Regions from separate parts of the Homo sapiens genome. Here regions 1, 2, 3, 4, 6 and 7 are each linked to region 5. Evidence: promoter capture Hi-C in 16 types of primary human blood cells and fetal thymus (Javierre and others, 2016). All regions are on one chromosome and are shown on one strand. Each heading gives the region's core, a stretch centred on a gene start or on the middle of the fragment in contact. The rest is flanking DNA. Distances are from core to core; before and after follow the strand shown. Region 1 overlaps CCNT2-AS1 (CCNT2 antisense RNA 1). Region 2 holds the start of MAP3K2 (mitogen-activated protein kinase kinase kinase 2). Region 3 has its middle 4.7 kb from the start of SFT2D3. Region 4 overlaps WDR33 (WD repeat domain 33). Region 5 holds the start of FAM168B (family with sequence similarity 168 member B). Region 6 overlaps CCNT2 (cyclin T2). Region 7 overlaps RAB3GAP1 (RAB3 GTPase activating protein catalytic subunit 1).

Region 1 (2,750 bases), core at 160-2,659, 3.8 Mb before region 5:
GACTATATTTGGATGCAGGTTCTTTTAAGTGGGAATTAAGTTAAAATGAGATCATTAGGGTGGGCCCTAATCCAGTATGACTGGTGTCCTAGAAGAAGAGTCAGTCATGATGTAGACATGTACAGAGGAAAGACCATATGAAGACACAGGGAGAAGACACCCATCTATTAGCCAAGGAGAAGGGCTTACTAGGCGGGTGAGCCAAGAAGAAAGGCTCACGAGGATAGTGAAGACTCAAGTCATTGTAGATAGTCACAAATTTGTGAGGCCTTGCCATTTGGATTACACTCAGAACTGCATGAATTCCTAACATACTCGGTGAAGATTGATTTCCGGTTCCTTTCTTTGCTCATTTTAGGAGGAAGACCTGTTTACTTATTTTTATTTTACTATTTATTTATCCAGTGAATGCTAGTAGAGATGTTACTGTGTGCTAGGAAATTCAAACTGCATAAGTCTGCACACTCGACTTTCCCTTTTGTGTGTCTCAAAGGCATTAATAATCAATATTTCCCCAAACTAAACTCATAATCCTGTCTTTCCAACCTGGTCTTCTCTCTGTGCCTCTTGTAGTAAAATGGCACTACTTCCAGTTATGCAAGTCCGAAACTTAGGGGTCATCTTTGGTATCTGTAATCCTTATCTCCCGTATCTAACCCATCACCAAAGCCTTTCTGTTGACCCTTATTATCTCTGGAGTCTATTACGTATGTTTCTCCACCAGCAACACTACCACCATCTTGGCCCAAGCTATTTCACTTAAGCTCCCCTGCAAGCTGTTGTCATCCTGCAGCCTGCCAGAGGAATCTTTTCAAAATTGAATTCTATCCCACAGGAGCAGGATTAAAAAAAATCAGCTCTAATTAATGCCATCCCCTACTTAAAAACCTTCTCATTGCTTTTCTTTGTTGTTGTTGTTATTATTTGTTTGTTTTCTTTTGGTATTGTTTTTTGACTTAAAACAAGAGAAATTTATTATCTCTCAATTCTAAAGGCCAGAAGTCTAAAATCAATGTGTTGGCAGGGACTATGGTTTGAATGATTGTCCTCTCCCAAACTCATGTTGAAATTTAATCCCCAATGTGGCAGTATTGAGAGGTGATTGGGTCATGAGGGCAGAGCCCTCATGAATGGATTAATAGGTTAATGGATTAATGGGTTATCATGGTAATGGAACTGGTCGGCTTTATAAGAAGAGGAAGAGACTGGAGCTAGCACGTTCAGCTCCCTTGCCATATGATGCCCTGTACTATCTTGGGATTCTGCAGAGTCCCCACCAGTAAGAAGGCCCTCACCAGATGTGGCCCCTCAACCTGGGACTTCTCAGCCTCTGTAACTCTAAGAAGTAATTACTGTTTCAGGTATCCTGCTATGAGCAATGAAAACTGGACTAAAACAGCAGGGCTGTGCTCCCTCTGAAGACTATTGGGGAGAATCTGTTTCTAGGCTCTTCAGCTTTTGGTGACTCTAGGCCTTTCTTGGCTTGTGACCGTAAGACTCCAATCCATGCTTCTTTGCTTCCAACTCTTGTTGTTTTTTTTTTAATTTTTAATTTTTGTGGGTGCATAGTAGTGTGGGGTACATGAGATATTTTGATACAGGTATGCAATGCTTATTAATCACATCTTGGTAAATTGGGTATCCATCCCCCTCATGCGTTTATCCTTTGTGTCACAGACAACTCAATTATATACTTTTAGTTATTTTTAAATGTATAATTAAATTATTATTGACTATAATAGTCACCTATTGTGCTATCACATATGAGGTCTTATTCATTTTTTCTAACTACTTTTGGTACCCATGAGCCATCCCCATTCCCCAATTATCCACTCCAGTCTCTAGTAATCATCCTTTTACTCTTTATGTCTGTAAATTCAATTATTTTAATTTTTGCTCCCACAAATAAGTGAGAACATGCAAAGTTTGTCTTTCTGTGCCTGGCTTATTTCACTTAACATAATGACCTCCAGTTCCATCGTTGTTGCAAATGACAGGATCTCATCCTTTTTTATGGCTGAATAGTACTCCATTGTATATATGTACCACAGTTTGTTTAATCATTCATCTGTTGGTGAATACTTAGGTTGCTTCCAAACCTTGGCTATTGTGAACACAGCTGCAACAAATATGAGAGTGCAGATATCCTTTTGATATACTGTCTTCCTTTCTTTTGGGTATGTACCCAGCAGTGGGATTACTAGATCACATGGTAGCTCTATTTTTAGTTTTTTGAGGAACCTCCAAACTGTTGTCCATAGTGGTTGTACTAATTTACATTCCCACCAACAATGGACAAGAGTTCCCTTTTCTCCACATCCTTGCCAGCATTTGTTATTGGTTGTCTTTTGGAAAAATGCCATTTTTACTGGGGTGAGATGATATCTGACTATAGTTTTGATTTGCATTTCTCTGATGAGCCATGATACTGAGGACATTTTCATATGCCTGTCTACCATTTGTATGTCTTCTTTTGAGAAATGTCTATTCAAATCTTTTGCCCATTTCAAAATCAGATTATTAAATTTTTTTCTTGTAGAGTTGTTTGAGCACGTTATAGATTCTGGTTCTTAATCCCTTGTCAGATGGGTAGTTTGCAAATGTTTTCTCCCATTTGTGAGTTCTCACAGCTTTTCAACATATAAAATTCCTCAACTGACTTATGGCCTCACATGAGCTTGTCACTTTTTACCAAGAATGTCTTCCTTTGTCATCTTCAGCCACAGTGGTTTTCTTTCTTGCTGTGTTCT
Region 2 (2,700 bases), core at 201-2,700, 3.7 Mb after region 5:
ATTTATCTCTAGATTACTTAGTAAACAAACACGTTTTTATTGAATGCCTGCTATGTGGTGACCCAGTAACTGTGGAGAACAATATAGATATTTAAGATTTAAATACTATCCTCCGGCGTTCTGAGACCCTCCTTTCTGTGGCATACAGGTCTTAGAATGTTAGATTCAAGAAGGTCTTAGATTTATGCATAAGTCCCCCATTTTTTAAACAAATAGAAGCAAACTGATTTTCCACTGACCTCTGTGTTTCTGAGGTGCACATCCTTGTTCCTGTGACTTTGACACCTCTGTTAATGGGTCTGTAATAAAAATTCCTGGAAGAAACCCAGAGATATTTTGACATTACACAACAGTTTCTCCCTCAGTCTCTGCCCCACAAGTGCCAGCTCCCTTGACCCTCAGAGCCCAAGTTGGGTAGCTCCTTACCTCTGGTTCGGGTGAGTCCCATTCCCATCTCTCTCATTTCAACTGCTCCAGTGGAAATGTGGTCTGGAATATGCATGAAAGGGGTGGATCCAGAATGTACGAAGAAACCAAGAAGAAGCTGAACAGGGAAGAATGGTACAGGAAGTTGTAAGGGGTATTTAAGGAAAGGAGAAGAGATGGGGCGGAAAGGTGCTTTCTGGATCAAAGTAGGGTGAAAACGTCGGGATGCAGGTTAGTCACACCACGGAGGGCCTCACCACTAGTCTGATTAATTTGCATTTTATCCTGTGGGAGATGAGGAGCGAAAGAAAGGGTTTTAGACTCTAGCTTTGGGGGTGGGGTGTCAACTCATGTCTCTGGGCTTAAGTTTCCACATCTGTTAAGCTGGAGAAGTAATACTTGCTGGGCTAACCAATGTACACAACCAGTCATAACCAAGTATCGATGGTGATAAGAACTAAACAGAAAACACAAATAACACTTAGCCAGTCTCCAAGGGGGTGGTTTAAGGTTAGGTGGCAAGCCTGAAGTAATTTCTAAAGTCCCTCAGGAAAAAAATTCTGAAACTTGAGCCACAAATTAAGAGGCAGACGGCTTTTCTCCTTGCAAATGACCTGCCACACAGTCCGTCACTGCCTCTGCTAGCTCTGCTACCCTTGGGCCCTGTCCACAGCCCACGTGGGAGACCTTTTCACGGGATCTACTCGGATGTCTGGGATCTGGCCACTACCGCAGGCTCGAGACAACCCAGGTGCGTATGCGCCGCGCACACGGAACAGCACAGGCTGCCCCGGGGCAGGGGCGGGGGCGGGGCCGAGGCCGGGGCGGAGCCAGGACTGGGAATCCCCGCGCCGTCCGGCCGGTGGGGGCGGTGGCCTGTGTGTGGGCGTGGCGGGCCTCTGCGCAGGCGCCGACCCACTCCCCTGGGCCGGGCGCGCGCCCGCGGCGGGTTCCGCTACCGCCGGGCGGAGGGGTGCGCGCGCACGAGCGAGCGGCCGTGACGTGCGCCGCGCTACGCCCGACGTCACGGGTCCGTGTGTAGTGGCTGCCGGGCTGCCTGCCCTCAGCGGCGGCGCCTGACGAGGGTGCCGCGGCCGCTGGGCGCAGCGTTCGGGGGTTGCACGGCCCGCGGCGGCGACGAAAACAACGACCAGGACGCTCGGCGCCCCTGTCCGCAGAGTCGCCACTCCCGCCTCTTCTCCGGTCTCTAGCGACGCGGGCCCGCGGCTTCCTCCTTTCCTGCCCAGTTCCCGCGGGCCTCGGGGTTGCAGCGGCTAGAAGTGCCGAGGAGCGCCAGGAGGACCCGGCCGGCTGCGAGGATTCACGCGCCCGCCACCCCGCCCGGCCCGGGCTTCATGTGAAAGAGGGACGGGCCTGGCCCCAAGGCCCGCGCCCGACTCCTCGCGCGCCCCTCCGGTCCCCGGGGGCCCTGCGGCAGCCCCCGACCTGGGGCCGCGGTGACAGGCCGCGCTGGGGCGGAGGGGCGGGCTCGGCGGGGGCGGCCCCTCCTTGGGCCTGCGGCTCTCTACGTCCCTGCGGAGCAGCCGGTACGTGCGTGTGTGCGTGCGCGCGCGCTTGTGTGTGTGTGTGTGTGTGTGTGCGCGCGTGTGTGTCGGGGGCCGCGGGCTGGGCGCCGGGAGGGGGGCTGGCGGCGGCCTAAGCGCCGCTCCAGGGGCGGAGATTTCGCTGGGTGATTGCCTAGCTGCGGGAGGGCGGACCTTGGGCCCCCTGCATCCAGTCCTAAAGCCCAGGTCAGCGCGAAGTAGGCTGCTGGGCTGTGTTAGCTGTCAGACACGTACCCTGCAGAGATTTTAGAAGAAAGGTTGCATCTGGTCTTGGGATGAAGCAGAAATGGTACATGCAGTAAGCGAAAAAGTGCTTGTCTTTGCACTGTCACAGTGTGGTAATCTTTTGATGTAAGGTTGTTTCCCCCTTTTCTCTTTACGGAATATTTAGGTAGCACTTAGGGTGCTCTTAGTCTGCGCCCGGCAGTTGTCATGCATTATCTCTCTTCATCTTCCCAGCTCAATGAGGTGGGTAAATTGCCCCATTTTGCAGGTGAAAACTTGAGGCTCAGAGAGATTAAGGCATTTGTCCAAGGTCATGAAGGTAGTAATCCAGGAAGGCTTGGTTCGAATATGCAGATGTCTTTTTGTAAGACTGTATTTCTCGTCTTGCAAAAAATAAATACGTTTAGAAAATGAGACTAACTGGGCAGTTTCTTTAATGGGATAAATTCTAAACACATAGACAGATACAGTTTAGTTTTCCCTA
Region 3 (2,750 bases), core at 196-2,695, 3.4 Mb after region 5:
TTTTTTTTTAATTTCTTGTTCTGAAACCCTATTTCTCTGTGGTACTCGATGGCCTTGTCCCCACGGGGAGAAGCCTGGCTTTTCAGGAGCTTTAGATTTCACCGTGTCAGCACCAGGCAGGGCCTGGCCTCAGCTCTCGCAGCCACCGCATCTGCACATCCTGGGCAGGGGCTCTTCAGATGCCCGCGTCCTCCCTTCCAGTATTGTTGGACTTTAGCATAAGGTCAGGCAGGTCCCAGCTCCCACCTCCCCAAGGGGAAGGGGCCACAGCCAGCCTTTTCTTCTGCCGAGGTCTTTCACCTTGACCTGAGGAAGCAGCACCCTTCGCACCAAATCCTCTCCCACTTGCAGGAAATTATATTTTCTCCCAGAGCCCAGCAAGTGTTATCCACGCTTCTTTTGAGGGCTTTCCAGAGTGGCGTCTGCCTCCCTTCCCTGTCTGTCATGGCCCTCTCTGTTCAGCTGGGTTTACTTGTCCCCTGCCGGGCCGCAACCTGAACTACATTCTCCCTTCCTTCAGTGTGGCGGGTCAGCTAGCGCCAACCACCCCCTCATTTTTGAGACAGGATCTTGCTCTGCTGCCCAGGCTGGAATGCAATGGTGCGATCTTGGCTCACTGCAAACTCCGCCTCCCGGGTTCAAGCGATTCTCCCACCTCAGCCTCTGGAGTAGCTGAGATTACAGGCGCCTGCCTGTAGACGGGGTTTCCACAGATGGTGCAGGTGGTCTCCAACTTCAGAGCTCAAGTGATCCGCCCACCTCAGCCTCCCAAAGTGCTGGGATTACAGGCATGAGCTACCGCACCAGGCCCACCAGTGCCCCCTTTCAAAACTGAAATCTAGTAATGTCCTCTTTATCTACTATTCTTCAGTGGCTCCTTATTTCCTACAGATTAAATTCTAATTCCCTGCCTGCCACCCAGCCTTCTAGGCCCTGCCTTACGCCCCTGTGGCTCTCCCCGATGCTCTGTGGGGTCCCTCTGGACCTAGCAGTTTGGAGACTCCCTTCTTCTGTGGCTTTGCTGAGCCTGGGCTCTCTGCTGGGTGGACCTCTGTCTACTGCTCCTTCCCCTCCCTCTCCCAAGCATCCCCTTCCTCCAGGTCAGTCCTCAGGGCCCACACAGCCCTGTCACTGACTGGTGACATTGCCAATGCCTTGAGGAGTTTTGTTATCAAACAAATGGGCTCACTGCTCAAGGCACAGCGAAACCAGTAACACTGGCAGCAGCTTTTGAGAAAAGAAAGGTTTCATTGCAAAACTGACAAGCAAGGAGGCAGGAGTGGGGCTCAAATCTGTCTCCCCAGTTTGAGGTCTGGGGTAAGCTTTAAGGGATCAGAGGGCAAGGGAAGTGATTGAGCAGTGTTGGCTTGGCAGGGTCTGATTGGCGGGCTTCAAATTTAACGATTTATGGAAAGGTTTGTCAAGGTAGATTTGGGCCCCAGTCTCCCAGGCTGACGCATCCCTGCTTCTGAAAGATTTCCATGTTCAGGTTCCAGTCCTGTCCTGGTCTTCTTTGTTCCGAGGGGAGGAGTCATTGGTTCTGGGTATTGTTAGAGGTCAAAGCTTGTTCCATTGTGCATGCCTGGGCAACATGGCTTGCAGTTTTGGCTCTGTTGTACCTACAAAGCAATGCGACATTCTGTCATCAACAAGGTAGGCCCAGTATGCGCTGGTCTCGCAGTTATAGTTTCTTCTTTTATTTACTAATTTTTAAAAGAATACCTAACTGCTTGCGTGGTGATGGTCTTCTCAAGTCTCATTTCTTTGAGTCCTGCTTCCCAGCCCCTGTCACTGTCTTCATTGCCTTGGCTTTTCCGGGTGACCTCAAGTTGGGTGGCTCAGGCTTTGTGGCAAATGTTGGCTCACCAGGCTGATTCATCATGGCTCAGTCACTGTCTGGGTTGGTCGCCTGGCCCTGGTGATCTTCCTCAGGCACAGTGCCAAAGCACTTGCCACAAAATGATGTCTCCTGTCCCCCCGACCTTGGGGCAGCAGAGCCTCTCCGTGGCCACTGGCTCATAGAGCTTCTGCACTGAGGGAGGTGCTCCGGCCAAGGCAGTGACCAGCAGCCACATGTAGCCTCTGCACCTGCGGGGCAGCTGAGGAACTGAATTTTAAATTTTAATTAACTTTAGTTAATTCATTATTTATATTGAATTATATTTAAAACATCATAATGTACCCACATTATTATATGTAACATACATAATATACTATTAATATATATTTATCATAGCCACATGTAGCTACTGTATTCCCACTGCCCCTCTGGAGCCTGTCAGAGATAGGGGGCGCAGTTGGCATTGTCACCACGCTGCCTGCACTTGAGTGCGAGCGGGTGCCCAGGGAGCGCTGGCGGCGCTCGCGTGCTGCTGGGGATGGGCAGACTCCTCGAGGGGCGCGGGCGAACGGTCGGGCTCTTGGACGTGGGGGGGCAGCGGCGTGCGGGGCCCTCCCCCGGTTTTCTCCTTACGCGTCCTGGGGAAACTGAGGACGCAGACGCCCTCCCACAGGAGCGTCTGAGCCAGGGCGCCTCCCAGGATGCCTCGCTGTCCCTCAGGCCTTCGTAGCGTCGGCTTGTCCAGTTGGCACCGCCCGTCCCGCTCTCTGGGGGCCCTGGCACCTCGGCCCCGCGCGGGCCTGTCCCGGGACCCCGCCGGCCGCGGGCCGCTCTCACGTGCTTTTGGCTGCAGCCCTACCCCGCTAGATTAGATTTAAAATCGCTAAAGGGGCCCTGTTCTGATAGCCTT
Region 4 (2,700 bases), core at 6-2,505, 3.4 Mb after region 5:
AAAATGTCTTTTTTGAGGGGGAGGGAGAAGCTGGGTAACTTTTGTGAACAAATCTTCTCTCTTTGGTGCTGTTGCAGGGTAGAGAAGGAAGTGGGTGGGATGGAGATGGCTCACGAAGGGATGATCTGGAGTCTGGCTTGGCATCCTCTTGGGCATATTCTCTGCTCAGGCTCAAATGACCATACTAGGTAAGCTTTATATTGAAATAGCAAAGCTTTATATGGAGCAACAGGAAATAAATACTGTATGTGTTTATTTTTATTGGTTGATTGATATAGTAATTTATATTCCAACTTATTCTTGGGAATATTTTTGTAGTGGTTTACAAATACTTATATTGCAATAAAGAGATTGGGTATTGAATATGGTTTTGGCTATTCAAATTTTGTTTTGCCTTCTGACTTAAAACAGAAGTTTTCCACTTTTATTTATTTATTTATTTATTTATTTGAGACAGGGTCTCTGTCCAGGCTGGCGTGCAATGGTGCGGTCTCAGCTCACTATAGCCTCAACCTTCCTGGGCTCAGGTGATCCTCCTACCTCAGCCTCCTGAGTAGCTGAGACTATAGGAGCACACCACCACACCTGGCTAATTTTTGCATTTTTTGTAGAGATGGGGTTTCACCATGTTGCCCAGGCTGATGTCAAACTCCTGGGCTTAGGCAATCCTCCTGCCTCAGCCTCCCAAGGTGCTGGGATTACAGGCATGAGCCACCTTGCCCGGCCCCACATTTTATTTTTATTTTTATTATTATTTTAAGAGACAGAGTCTCACTCTGTCACCGAGACTAGAGTTCTGTGGTGAGATCACAGCTCACTGTAGCCTCAAACTCCTGGGCTCAAGCCATCTTCCCGCCTTATCCTCGTGAGTAGCTGAGACTACAGGTGTGTGCCACCACACCCAGCTAACTTTTTAATTTTTATTTTGTAGAGACAGGGTTTCGCTATGTTGCCCAGGCTGGTCTTGGACTCCTGGACTTAATCCTCCTGCCACAGCCTCCCAAAGTGCTGGGATTACAGATGTGAGCCAAAGTGTATGACCTCACATTTTAAATTTGTAGAAGAAACAAATTGTAAAAATGTGTTGTGTTTACCAAGGGTCTGCCTAGTACTGTTTAGTGCCCAAAAAAATAGTGAAGCCATGCTTCTTTTCTCCTTTAATTATTTTTACAGCAAATTCTGGACTCGAAACCGACCAGGTGATAAAATGCGAGATCGATATAATCTAAACCTTTTACCTGGAATGTCTGAAGATGGAGTAGAATATGGTGAGACTCTTGCACATCTGTCCTTCTTTGAAATCTGGTATTCTATTACAGAAGTGTTAGATGTTGGGAAGATTATACAAAATGAATTTTAATTTTATAGTAGATTTATTTATAAATCATCAGTGACATTCATTTTTATAAAGCATTAATTTTATCAGTCGCTACTTTTGTAAATTCTCTATTGACAATGGTGTATTACTATTTATAGATGACCTCGAACCTAATAGCCTGGCAGTAATTCCAGGAATGGGAATACCAGAACAACTAAAATTAGCTATGGAACAAGAACAGATGGGTAAGAGAAGTTACACAGACACATTTAATTTTTACAAATTTTTTCTTGACCCGTTTATGTTCCTGATAAATATATTGAAATACCAAAATGATTTATGTTGAGAAATGTTGATAAAAATTATATAAATGACATAATACTTAAAATCTATTCTTCCAATAATGTGTTCATTGATCAAGTGGCCAATTTCTTTTATTTAAGAGGCAAACCACTTTTCTTTACGGTTACAGGGAAAGATGAATCAAATGAAATTGAAATGACAATTCCAGGTTTAGATTGGGGAATGGAGGAAGTGATGCAAAAGGATCAGAAAAAAGTACCTCAGAAGAAAGTTCCTTATGCAAAACCCATTCCTGCTCAGTTCCAGCAGGTAAGTAAAAGTGACTCCACCTCATCCACGCAGAGAGGTTTTGGTTGGTTAGTTTGAGGTTTCTCTTGGATTATCTCACTGTTGAAGGTGTTTCTGTACTGGAGCATTTTTCCCATGTTCACGTACTCTTAGACATGGTTCTCATCTACTGCTTTGCAGTTGTATTGAGTTTGTTATCAGTCTTCTCTGTTCTGTCCTCACCTGCTTATTATCATCCATGCTATGAGAGGAAATAGAAGAAAGAGGCATGGAGCAGAGGGAGTATGGGAGTATGTTGCTTCTCTTCTCCATTGTTTATCTATCTTGTGCTTTAATTGTCCCCTCAACACAAAGTGCATGTACCCTGTGAAGAGGCTGGCAAGCTTTGCATTCTTAATAACATGCAGTGTCTTGCAGCTTTTATCACCATAGTAATTTCTACCTAGTAATATGTCAGTAAGAATTAGCATGAGTCATGTACTTGAGTCATGGAGAAAAGGTAAAAAGAAATAAAATCGGTTCAGAGGTTAGATTGAGCAGATGACATTGTAGAGTGGTTTTCTCATTCTATCATTGTAATTTTCATACTTAGCGTACATTTTAATATTCTCTTCTTTCCCAAGGCTTGGATGCAAAATAAAGTTCCAATTCCTGCTCCAAATGAGGTGCTGAATGACAGAAAAGAAGACATTAAATTGGAAGAGAAGAAAAAAACACAAGCAGAAATTGAGCAAGAAATGGCTACATTACAATATACTAACCCACAACTTCTGGAGGTGTGTGAAGCTCTG
Region 5 (2,700 bases), core at 151-2,650:
TTACTCCAATACTAAAAAGGAATTTCCCCATGTTTTCTTCTTGTCCTTTTATCACATTTATATTTTATTTTTATTTTTTTTTTTGAGACGGAGTCTTCCTCTGTCGCCCAGGCTGGAGTGCAGTGGCCCGATCTCGGCTCACTGCAACCTCCGCCTCCCGGGTTCAAGAGATTCTCCTGCCTCAGCCTCCAGAGCAGCTAAGGTTACAGATGTGCGCCACCACGCGCAGCTAATTTTTGTATTTTTAGTAGAGACGCGGTTTCACTATGTTGGCCAGGCTGGTCTTGAACTCCTGACCTCGTGATCTGCCCGCCTCGGCCTCCTATAAGTGCCGGGATTAAAGGCGTGAGACACCGCGCCCATCTGTTTTTATTTCATAAACGACTGAAAAAAGACCAGAGCCAGGCCTCCTCCCTTCCATCACTAATCTTTATTGCAATAACTCCCTCCTTTGTCGTCCTGTACCTAGCTCAGACCAGACGACACCCCAAACACAAACACCAAGACACGCACCTCTTTAATACGAAATAATAAACATACCTCCCCCAGAGAGACACCCTGAACTAACCAAATCATTGTAACTATACACTAAGCCTTACATAAAAATACTAACATTTGGCCGGGTGCGGTGGCTCACACTTGTAATCCCAGCACTTTGGGAGGCCAACGTGGGTGGATCACCTGAGGTCACGGGTTCGAGACTAGCCTGACCAACATGGTGAAACCCCCGTCTCTACTAACACAAAAATTAGCCAGGTGTGGTGGCGGGCGCCTGGAATCTCAATTACTCAGGAGGCTGAGGCAGGAGAATCGCTTGAACCCGGGAAGCGGAGGTTGCAGTGAGCCAAGATCGCGCCATTGTACTCCAGCCTGGGTGACAAGAGCGAAACTCCGTCTCAAAAAAAAACCAAAAAACCCCCTAACATTCTAGTACACTTCCCTGAACTCTTGTCTATAGAAATGATCCCGCACTTCTACACTTGAAACGCTGACTTGCATTCTCTAAAATCTGCACTCCTGAGCGGGCGCCCGCAGCCTCCGCACTGGCAAAGAATCTGTGAGCTGAGCTCCGCCCCGCTCCGACCCCGTAGTGGCGGTCACCCGGGGTGTGCTCGACTCCCGGGTGCGGCCTGAGGATCCGCGCCCTGGCGTCTGGGCACACACAAAGGTTTCTGCGGCGCGGGACTATCTCAAAATATAAATTAAATACTTTTTTCACAGACAGTTAATAAAAAAACTACAGCTACACCCGGCCCTTTCGCCAACTGGGACCGGCCCACTCCGCGCTCGCGCTCGCGCTCGTCCATCCGGGCGTCTCGAGGGCGCCGGCGGGAGCGAGCACGCTGCGCAGTCACGTGCCCGGCGCGCCCCCGTCGCGGCGCGCTCAGGCGGAAGTGAGGTCGGCGGCTCCGGTGGCTGCGCAGCGTCGGCGGGGAGCGCGGGCTGCGGAGAGGCGGGCCGGGCCAAGCGGAGCCGAGCGAGCGGGAGCGCGGCGTCCGGGAGGCGGCGGAGACGCGGGGCTCGGAGGGTCAGCCTCTTATCGTAGCAGGTCTCCTCGGCACGCCCCCCTTGTTTCGCCCCACGGCCAAGCCCGCCGCGGGCCGGCGTGCGCTGGTCACTGAGGCCCAGGTCGCCGCCGCGGCGCGGTGAGTGGGGGCGGGCAGCGGGCGACTGCGCGTCCAGGCCGGAAGTGCGGCGCTTTGTGCGGCCGGCTCGGGGCGGCGCCAAGGTCGGCCCGCGGCTCGGGGTCGCTGGGCGTCTGGACCGGCCTGGGCTGCGCTTTGTGCCGCGGGCAAGGCCGGGCGGGGGCCGGGGGCGGAGCTCGGCCGGACACGTACGCGTGCAGGTGCGGTCCGGGCGGCGCGGGCCTGCCGCCTAGGTGGCCGAGGTGGCTTCGCGGCGCGGGGCGTTCTCCTAAAGGTCGGGGTCACAGCCGTCAGGAATGCGAGCGTGAAACCCGGGGGCAGAGCTTTGTGACAATAGTCATTTCCAATGTGTAACTGCTCACTTTGTCTACCCACGAAGTAAAGATAATTTTTATTTTTATTTTTTTGCTTGGCGGAATCTGAGCGTTCTCCTTCCAGCTTGAAAAGGCACGATTTAAATTACAGATTTTTAAGATTTCCTTCAGAAAGGACGTTTCGTGGCCTAGCCTGGGTTAACTTTGAAAAAAGAGTGCAGTGCGCCTTTACGACGTCCACAAATAAGGGTATTTCTGTTTTATAGTGTATGTGAACATGAAGTGTGCATCTCATGGGCTGTTTGAGTTAATGTTTAATCATTAAAGTCAAACAAGAATATTTTGCAGTGTTTTCGCATGCAAGGAAGCTTTATAAATAAAAAGGTTTATATAGTTTCCACTCCTTAAACTTTCAGGTCATCCTTGTGTAATTTGAGATCACTTTTCTCAAATACTATGGATGAAAGATTCTAGATTAAATAAAACTTTTTGGTTTTGGCAAAAACAGGACACATTTTTAAGCTCTTGTAGATGAAGGAGTGGGTTATTTTTGCTTTGACAGCCAAGATTTGAGCAGTGTAAGGCTATTCTAATTTTGAAGCTAGTGTTGCAGAAATTGTGAAGATCTTGCTTCTCTTTGTCTTTACAAAGCAGGCTTACTTTGGTGGAGTTCCGTAGTTTAAAGGGAAATTATACCCAAGTTGTCTTAGACAGTTTCTTTTCCTGGATCAATTGAGCAC
Region 6 (2,700 bases), core at 98-2,597, 3.8 Mb before region 5:
GTGAGACCCCTGTCTCTACAAAAAATTAAAAAAATTAACTGTGTGGTGGCATGTGCCTGTAATTCCAGCTACTTGGGAGGCTAAGGTGGGGGAATCACTTGAACCCAGGAGGTTGATGCTGCAGTGAGCCATGATTGTGCCACTGCACTCCAGCCCGGGTGTCAGAGGGAGACCTAGTCTCAAAAAAAAAAAAAAAAAAAAAAAAGGCAGCTATCCAAGTTTCCAATATTATTGGAATCTAGAGTTACCATATGATCCAGCAATTCTACTCCTGGGTATAAGCCCAAGAGAAACCAAAAACACAAGTCTACACAAAAACTTGTACACAAATGTTCTTAAGAGCACTATTCATATTAGCCAAAAAGTGGCTAACAATCCAAATGCCCACCAACTGATGAACATATATATATAATGTGGTCTAGCCATACAGTGGAATAATGGGTAGTACAGCAAGAAAAGTAAACAACCTACTGAATAAATACAACAACATAGATGAGCCTTGAAAACACGGTAAGTGAAAGAAGTCAGTCACAAAGGACAACATACTGTAGGATTCCATTAATGAAATGTCTATTAATAGGCTGGGGGAAAAATAGGGAGAAATGACTGCGGGGTTGGGGGTTTCTTTTTGGTGTAGTGAAGACTTCTAAAAATTGATGCACACCTCTGTGAATATTCTTAAAAAAACCCACAAACCCCACGGAATCATACTTTCAATGGGTGAAATGTACAATATGTGAATTATATCACAAAAAGGGCAAAAATCCAGTAATTATCCTATATGATACGTGCCACTGGGTGTCCATATGAGATGAATCAAGAATTCCAATACAAAAATACCAATTTGTAAGAAAGAAATGACAGAATTAGAGTATCACCAATGAATGAAAGGACCCAGGCATTGAATATCAGCAGCCACTAACACTACAAAGAGAGACAACCAGACTTTAGACCTTCTGACCAAAGAACATTAACACCATCTATAGCCTTGCCTAAGGGATCTAACAGGAGTCTGATTAAGTTTCTGGATCTAATCATCAATTTTTCCAGGAATGCAAGAAAAAAGGAACACAGTAAACTGCACCATGAGTATACAATCAGCAAAATTCAGACAGTTGGAAACTCTACAGGTCACACACTCTAGGGTCCTTCAACAGCTACAACTTAGTTGACATAAAAAGATGGAGGGGAAACATGCATACTGAGAGACTTCAAAGACTTACCAAATTTTTAATAATGAGCAAGGTCTATGGTATTTGGGAATGCAGAGTTGGGTGCTAAAACTATAAAGAAAGTGATTAGAGTAAGAATACTGGGGCCGGGCGAGGTGGCTAACGCCTGTAATCCCAGCACTTTGGGAGGTCGAGGTGGGGGGAATCACGAGGTCAGGAGTTTGAGACCAGCCAGACCAACATGGTGAAAACCCGTCTCTACTAAAAATACAAAAATTAGCTGGGCATGGTGGTGCATGCCTGTAATCCCAGCTACCCAGGAGGCTAAGGCAGGAGATTCACTTGAACTCAGGAGGCGGAGGTTGCAGCGAGCCGAGATTGCACCACTGCACTCCAGCCTGGGCGACAAGACCAGACTCCTATCTCAAAAAAATAAAAAAGAATACTGGTTACTTTTGGAGGGAGGGGATCGACACTGAGTTGAGCACGTGGAGACATTCCGGGGTAGTTGGCAAAGTTCTATTTCTTGACTTGGTTGGTGATTACAAGGTTGTTTTATAATAATCCACTATACATTTGTTTGGTGGTTTTATATATTTTACAATTAAAAAGAAAACACTCATCTCATATATGTACAGTTACACTACAGCACTATAAACTCCCAAATAGATGGAATACAACTGGATGTGAATAAGATTCAAAGGTAAGATCAGAGAGATAAATTCACAAATGGAAAAGAGAGTTATCTGGGGAATGCTTTATGAAAGAGTAGCAACTTCAGCTGAGTCTTAAAACCTGACAGAGCACAGTCACATGAAAGCAAAGAGAAAGCACCCTAAGGAAAAACAGTGATACACAATGCATAAATGCTAACACTGATGTATAGTTGAAAAAGAGGAATTTGGGACTTATAAAGAGGACCTCATTGGATTTAGTGCAATGAGGCGGGCAAATAAAAATCTGAGGTTTTTTCATTGTTTACTTTATAAATCTTACAAATCACTGGCATAAATTGCTACTGTGCTCTACTTCTGAAATATACTAGAACAGGAAAAAGTGAGAACTACAGTTTGGGATTAAGCAAAGGACTTGGGTTCAAATCCCAGCCACGTAATAGTTTTAATTTCGGACAAGTCACTTGGTAACTGCGTCTGCTTCCTTAGGAGAATACTTTACCTGAGAAAACAAGACAAATATAAAGTGCCTGGCATAGTGAGATCTTAATAAAATTTCAACCAGGTAATTTATAGTTTAAAAGGAATTTAAAAATCATCTAGGCTAATCGTCTCAAATTTACAGGTTAGTACCTACTACATTGAAGAGCACAGATACACAAAACTTGCGCTATGCAGAAAGTTCTACTGGACAGCACTGCAGTATTTCCAAGTAATGCTAATGGATCTTGGGCATAAGATTATTGTTGGATTAATTATTGCTTTATTAAACTAAAAGGCAGAAAGAGAAGTAAGCTATAAACACCTGCTTAGACTTCACAATGAAACATATGCTGATTTGACTTCTGTAAAAC
Region 7 (2,700 bases), core at 162-2,661, 4.0 Mb before region 5:
CTTAGAGTGACTTTAGTTAACACTAATTGACTGTACATTTCAAAATAGCTAAAAGAGAGTAACTTGCATGTTCTTAGCATAAAGATAAATATTTAAGGGTTCCCAAGTACCCTGATTTGATTATATGCATGTATCAAATTATCACATGTACCCCAAAATATGTACATCTATCATATATCAATTTAAAAAATAATAATAAAATAAAATTTTAATGTTTCTTTACTGATCACCCTCACTAGAATTTATGTTCAATGGCAACACTGATCTTATCTTGTTCACAATTTCTTCACATCAGGCACATAGCAGGTACTCAGTAAATACATGTAAATCAAAGAATGAAAGAATATCAGAGCTCATAAGTACCCGGTTTAGCTCTCTTCTTAGTAGTGTAAATCATTTCCTATTCTAGCTATATCCAGCTTATTTTGCCTCTAATCTTATTGGCATCTATATCAATTGTTATGTATTTGTTTCAAGTGGAGTAGAATGACCCGTGTTTGAAAGCGTCACATTTTCTTTATTCACACATGTAGTGTAGTAAATCAATGTATATATTGCCAAGAGTCTTTGAATGATGTATTTTTTATATGTGGTCTTACTTTTTCTGTTCATATTGATACAAATAAGGAGATTTTTTTTCCTTAAGAGACAGGGTCTCACCATGTTGCCTGGCTTCCTAATGCATTTTGACAGTCTCTTTTTTGATAGTATCACCATCACAAAGCTGAAAACCCCTAGCAAATATTGAGAACTCAAAGTTCCTAACACAGGGTAAATTATAATTAAATTACTATTGAATTAATAATTACTGAGTTAATAAGTTATCACTGAGTTAGTAATATTGAGTTGTAATAAAACCAACCATAAATTTTATTTCAAAAGAATTTATCTAACAAACTAAGCATCTACATAAACTTAAAATCAAATTGTTAGATCCCTTCACAGTGAATCCAGGTTTGTTCTCAGAGTACATTCTTCAGTAAACATTTGGGGTGTGGTTTATGAATAAAACTACCAATACTTTAGATTAGAATTTGATTTCTACCTCAATTTCAAAGAGTAATTTTTTCATTCTTAAATAAAATCCTTAAAACATCCATAAGTTAAAAAGCTTAAAAGGGAAGGGGGATGTTATTAGTGATATTATAAAATACAAAAACTGAGTGAAATAGTTGTTAACTACAGTAAGTCAATGGTAAGTACTAGAATTTTCCTCATTAGTAAGCAAAATATGCTACCAAAGAAGATGGTCACTGCAATGTTTCTCTGACCAAATAAAAAACTTTTAAAAACATGTTTTAACATTCCAAGGGAGAAGGCAAAAGAGAAGCAAACTTCACTCACAAAGAATCACTCACAAAGAATGACATTTTATATATATATATATACACACACACATATATATAACTTTATTAAACATTTCACAAATGTCTTACATATATCATTTGCCACAGATTTAAATCCAAATTCTTCCAAATGCTATTTGATGTTTATAGATTATACGTAACTTTAAAAAACATTTAATTCAAATGTGCCAAATGCAGCAAAGGGCTGGAAAATAGAGGTTTCAAAGTAAATAGTCATTTAGAGACACCAGCAAATAGATCTGACCTTTTCGAGTGGCTTTCCCAAAGAGTTTCCAATCAGTTTCCAGTCATTCAAGACTTCTTCAACTTTGGAAATAAACCTAGGAAGTAGGGAGAAAGCTTCTAAATACAACAGCACACCTTTTTTCCTATTATTATGTAATTTCTTTAAAAAGGTATTTTTTATATTTTAACAATTTGACCAGAGAGGACTCAGTACATTTAGTATTGCTAGCTTAATTTATGGATATGGGGTAAGAGAAATAATCTTCTTTCATTCAAGAATTCTTAGGTTTTGATTCATTTATATCTATTGCTTACCCAACAAAAGCATTCTGCCTTCTATAAAATGTAAATTAAGAATTGATGAATCTCTAATAAAACGAATAAAACAAATTTGGGGCACAAATAAAAACTGACAGACTAAAATGATACTATTAAAGATAATTATGGGCTGGGTGCAGTGGCTCATGCCTGTAATTCCAGCCCTTTGAATTCCTAACCCTGAGGTTGGGAGTTCAAGACCAGCCCAGCACAAATACAAAAAAAATTAGCCCGGTGTGGTGGCACACATCTGTAATCCCAGCTACGCAGGAGGCTGAGGCACAAAAATCACATAGAAGCGGACGTTGCAGTGAGCGGACATCGCGCCACTGCACGCCAGCCTGGGCGACAGAGTGAGATTCCATCTCAAAAATAAATAAATAAATAAAATTATGAAACCAATCATCTCTCTCCTACCCACAATAACTGACCTATTTAAATAAACTTTTCCTTTAAATATATTAGGAATTCCGATTTACCCCCCCAGCCCCCAACAAAAAAAGAAAATATTATTTGGTAACTTGGTTCATGAAACTAAAACAAGTTTTAATGGACAGCTGACAAGAAATTGCAAGTAAATATGTCAACTTTAAGTATAAGTGACAGGTCTTAAAACTAGTCACCAATCTTTAAATCCAATGGTCAAGAAGGCCTATTAAAAAGAGAACTGAATTTTGAGTAGCAACATGCTCAACATCAGTAAATGAAAACTGTCAAGTCTCAGTCAAAGACATTTTCAGAAGAATTATTCTTACTCTAAGTTGACTTCTTATATAAGCTAAGTATGATG

What was found. The method cuts DNA at HindIII sites, captures the fragments that hold promoters and counts their contacts. A CHiCAGO score of 5 or more calls a contact.
Region 1: a contact is called between a fragment that was not itself captured here and the fragment with the promoter of FAM168B in region 5, in 1 of 17 cell types (M0 macrophages). The highest score is 8.5, in M0 macrophages.
Region 2: a contact is called between the fragment with the promoter of MAP3K2 here and the fragment with the promoter of FAM168B in region 5, in 6 of 17 cell types (total CD4 T cells, total CD8 T cells, fetal thymus and 3 more). The highest score is 13.3, in total CD4 T cells.
Region 3: a contact is called between a fragment that was not itself captured here and the fragment with the promoter of FAM168B in region 5, in 1 of 17 cell types (monocytes). The highest score is 7.5, in monocytes.
Region 4: a fragment that was not itself captured here is called in contact with the fragment with the promoter of FAM168B in region 5 in 1 of 17 cell types (monocytes); the score reaches 7.5 in monocytes.
Region 6: a contact is called between a fragment that was not itself captured here and the fragment with the promoter of FAM168B in region 5, in 13 of 17 cell types (fetal thymus, activated CD4 T cells, total B cells and 10 more). The highest score is 20.9, in fetal thymus.
Region 7: a fragment that was not itself captured here is called in contact with the fragment with the promoter of FAM168B in region 5 in 5 of 17 cell types (fetal thymus, total CD4 T cells, non-activated CD4 T cells and 2 more); the score reaches 9.9 in fetal thymus.

The regions. Positions count from the first base shown.
Region 1 is chr2:134,907,216-134,909,965 of GRCh38, reverse strand. All of the region lies in intron 1 of CCNT2-AS1 (CCNT2 antisense RNA 1), which reads left to right. Among named protein-coding and RNA genes, the nearest start is that of CCNT2-AS1, 10 kb to the left of the region's middle. The HindIII fragment of the contact is 3,815 bases long and covers 1-2,750 here.
Region 2 is chr2:127,386,725-127,389,424 of GRCh38, reverse strand. It overlaps MAP3K2 (mitogen-activated protein kinase kinase kinase 2), which reads left to right and starts at 1,450. Exons shown (of 17, transcript NM_001371910.2): 1 at 1,450-1,973. MAP3K2-DT (MAP3K2 divergent transcript) reads right to left here and starts at 1,987. Exons shown (of 4, transcript NR_187129.1): 1 at 1,873-1,987; 2 at 427-544; 3 at 240-314. RefSeq lists a silencer at 1,161-2,030. The HindIII fragment of the contact is 12,520 bases long and covers 1-2,700 here.
Region 3 is chr2:127,695,454-127,698,203 of GRCh38, reverse strand. No RefSeq gene overlaps it. Among named protein-coding and RNA genes, the nearest start is that of SFT2D3, 4.7 kb to the left of the region's middle. The HindIII fragment of the contact is 241 bases long and covers 1,325-1,565 here.
Region 4 is chr2:127,721,821-127,724,520 of GRCh38, reverse strand. It overlaps WDR33 (WD repeat domain 33), which reads left to right. Exons shown (of 22, transcript NM_018383.5): 11 at 78-188; 12 at 1,174-1,268; 13 at 1,477-1,563; 14 at 1,791-1,930; 15 at 2,533-2,685. Among named protein-coding and RNA genes, the nearest start is that of SFT2D3, 22 kb to the right of the region's middle. RefSeq lists an enhancer at 1,959-2,700. The HindIII fragment of the contact is 2,078 bases long and covers 217-2,294 here.
Region 5 is chr2:131,092,160-131,094,859 of GRCh38, reverse strand. It overlaps FAM168B (family with sequence similarity 168 member B), which reads left to right and starts at 1,400. Exons shown (of 7, transcript NM_001009993.4): 1 at 1,400-1,646. RefSeq lists a silencer at 1,227-1,946. The HindIII fragment of the contact is 2,381 bases long and covers 1-2,330 here.
Region 6 is chr2:134,923,365-134,926,064 of GRCh38, reverse strand. The region is part of intron 2 of CCNT2 (cyclin T2); the gene reads right to left. Among named protein-coding and RNA genes, the nearest start is that of CCNT2, 5.9 kb to the right of the region's middle. The HindIII fragment of the contact is 4,940 bases long and covers 1-2,700 here.
Region 7 is chr2:135,056,998-135,059,697 of GRCh38, reverse strand. It overlaps RAB3GAP1 (RAB3 GTPase activating protein catalytic subunit 1), which reads right to left. Exons shown (of 24, transcript NM_012233.3): 3 at 1,612-1,687. Among named protein-coding and RNA genes, the nearest start is that of RAB3GAP1, 6.1 kb to the right of the region's middle. The HindIII fragment of the contact is 595 bases long and covers 1,114-1,708 here.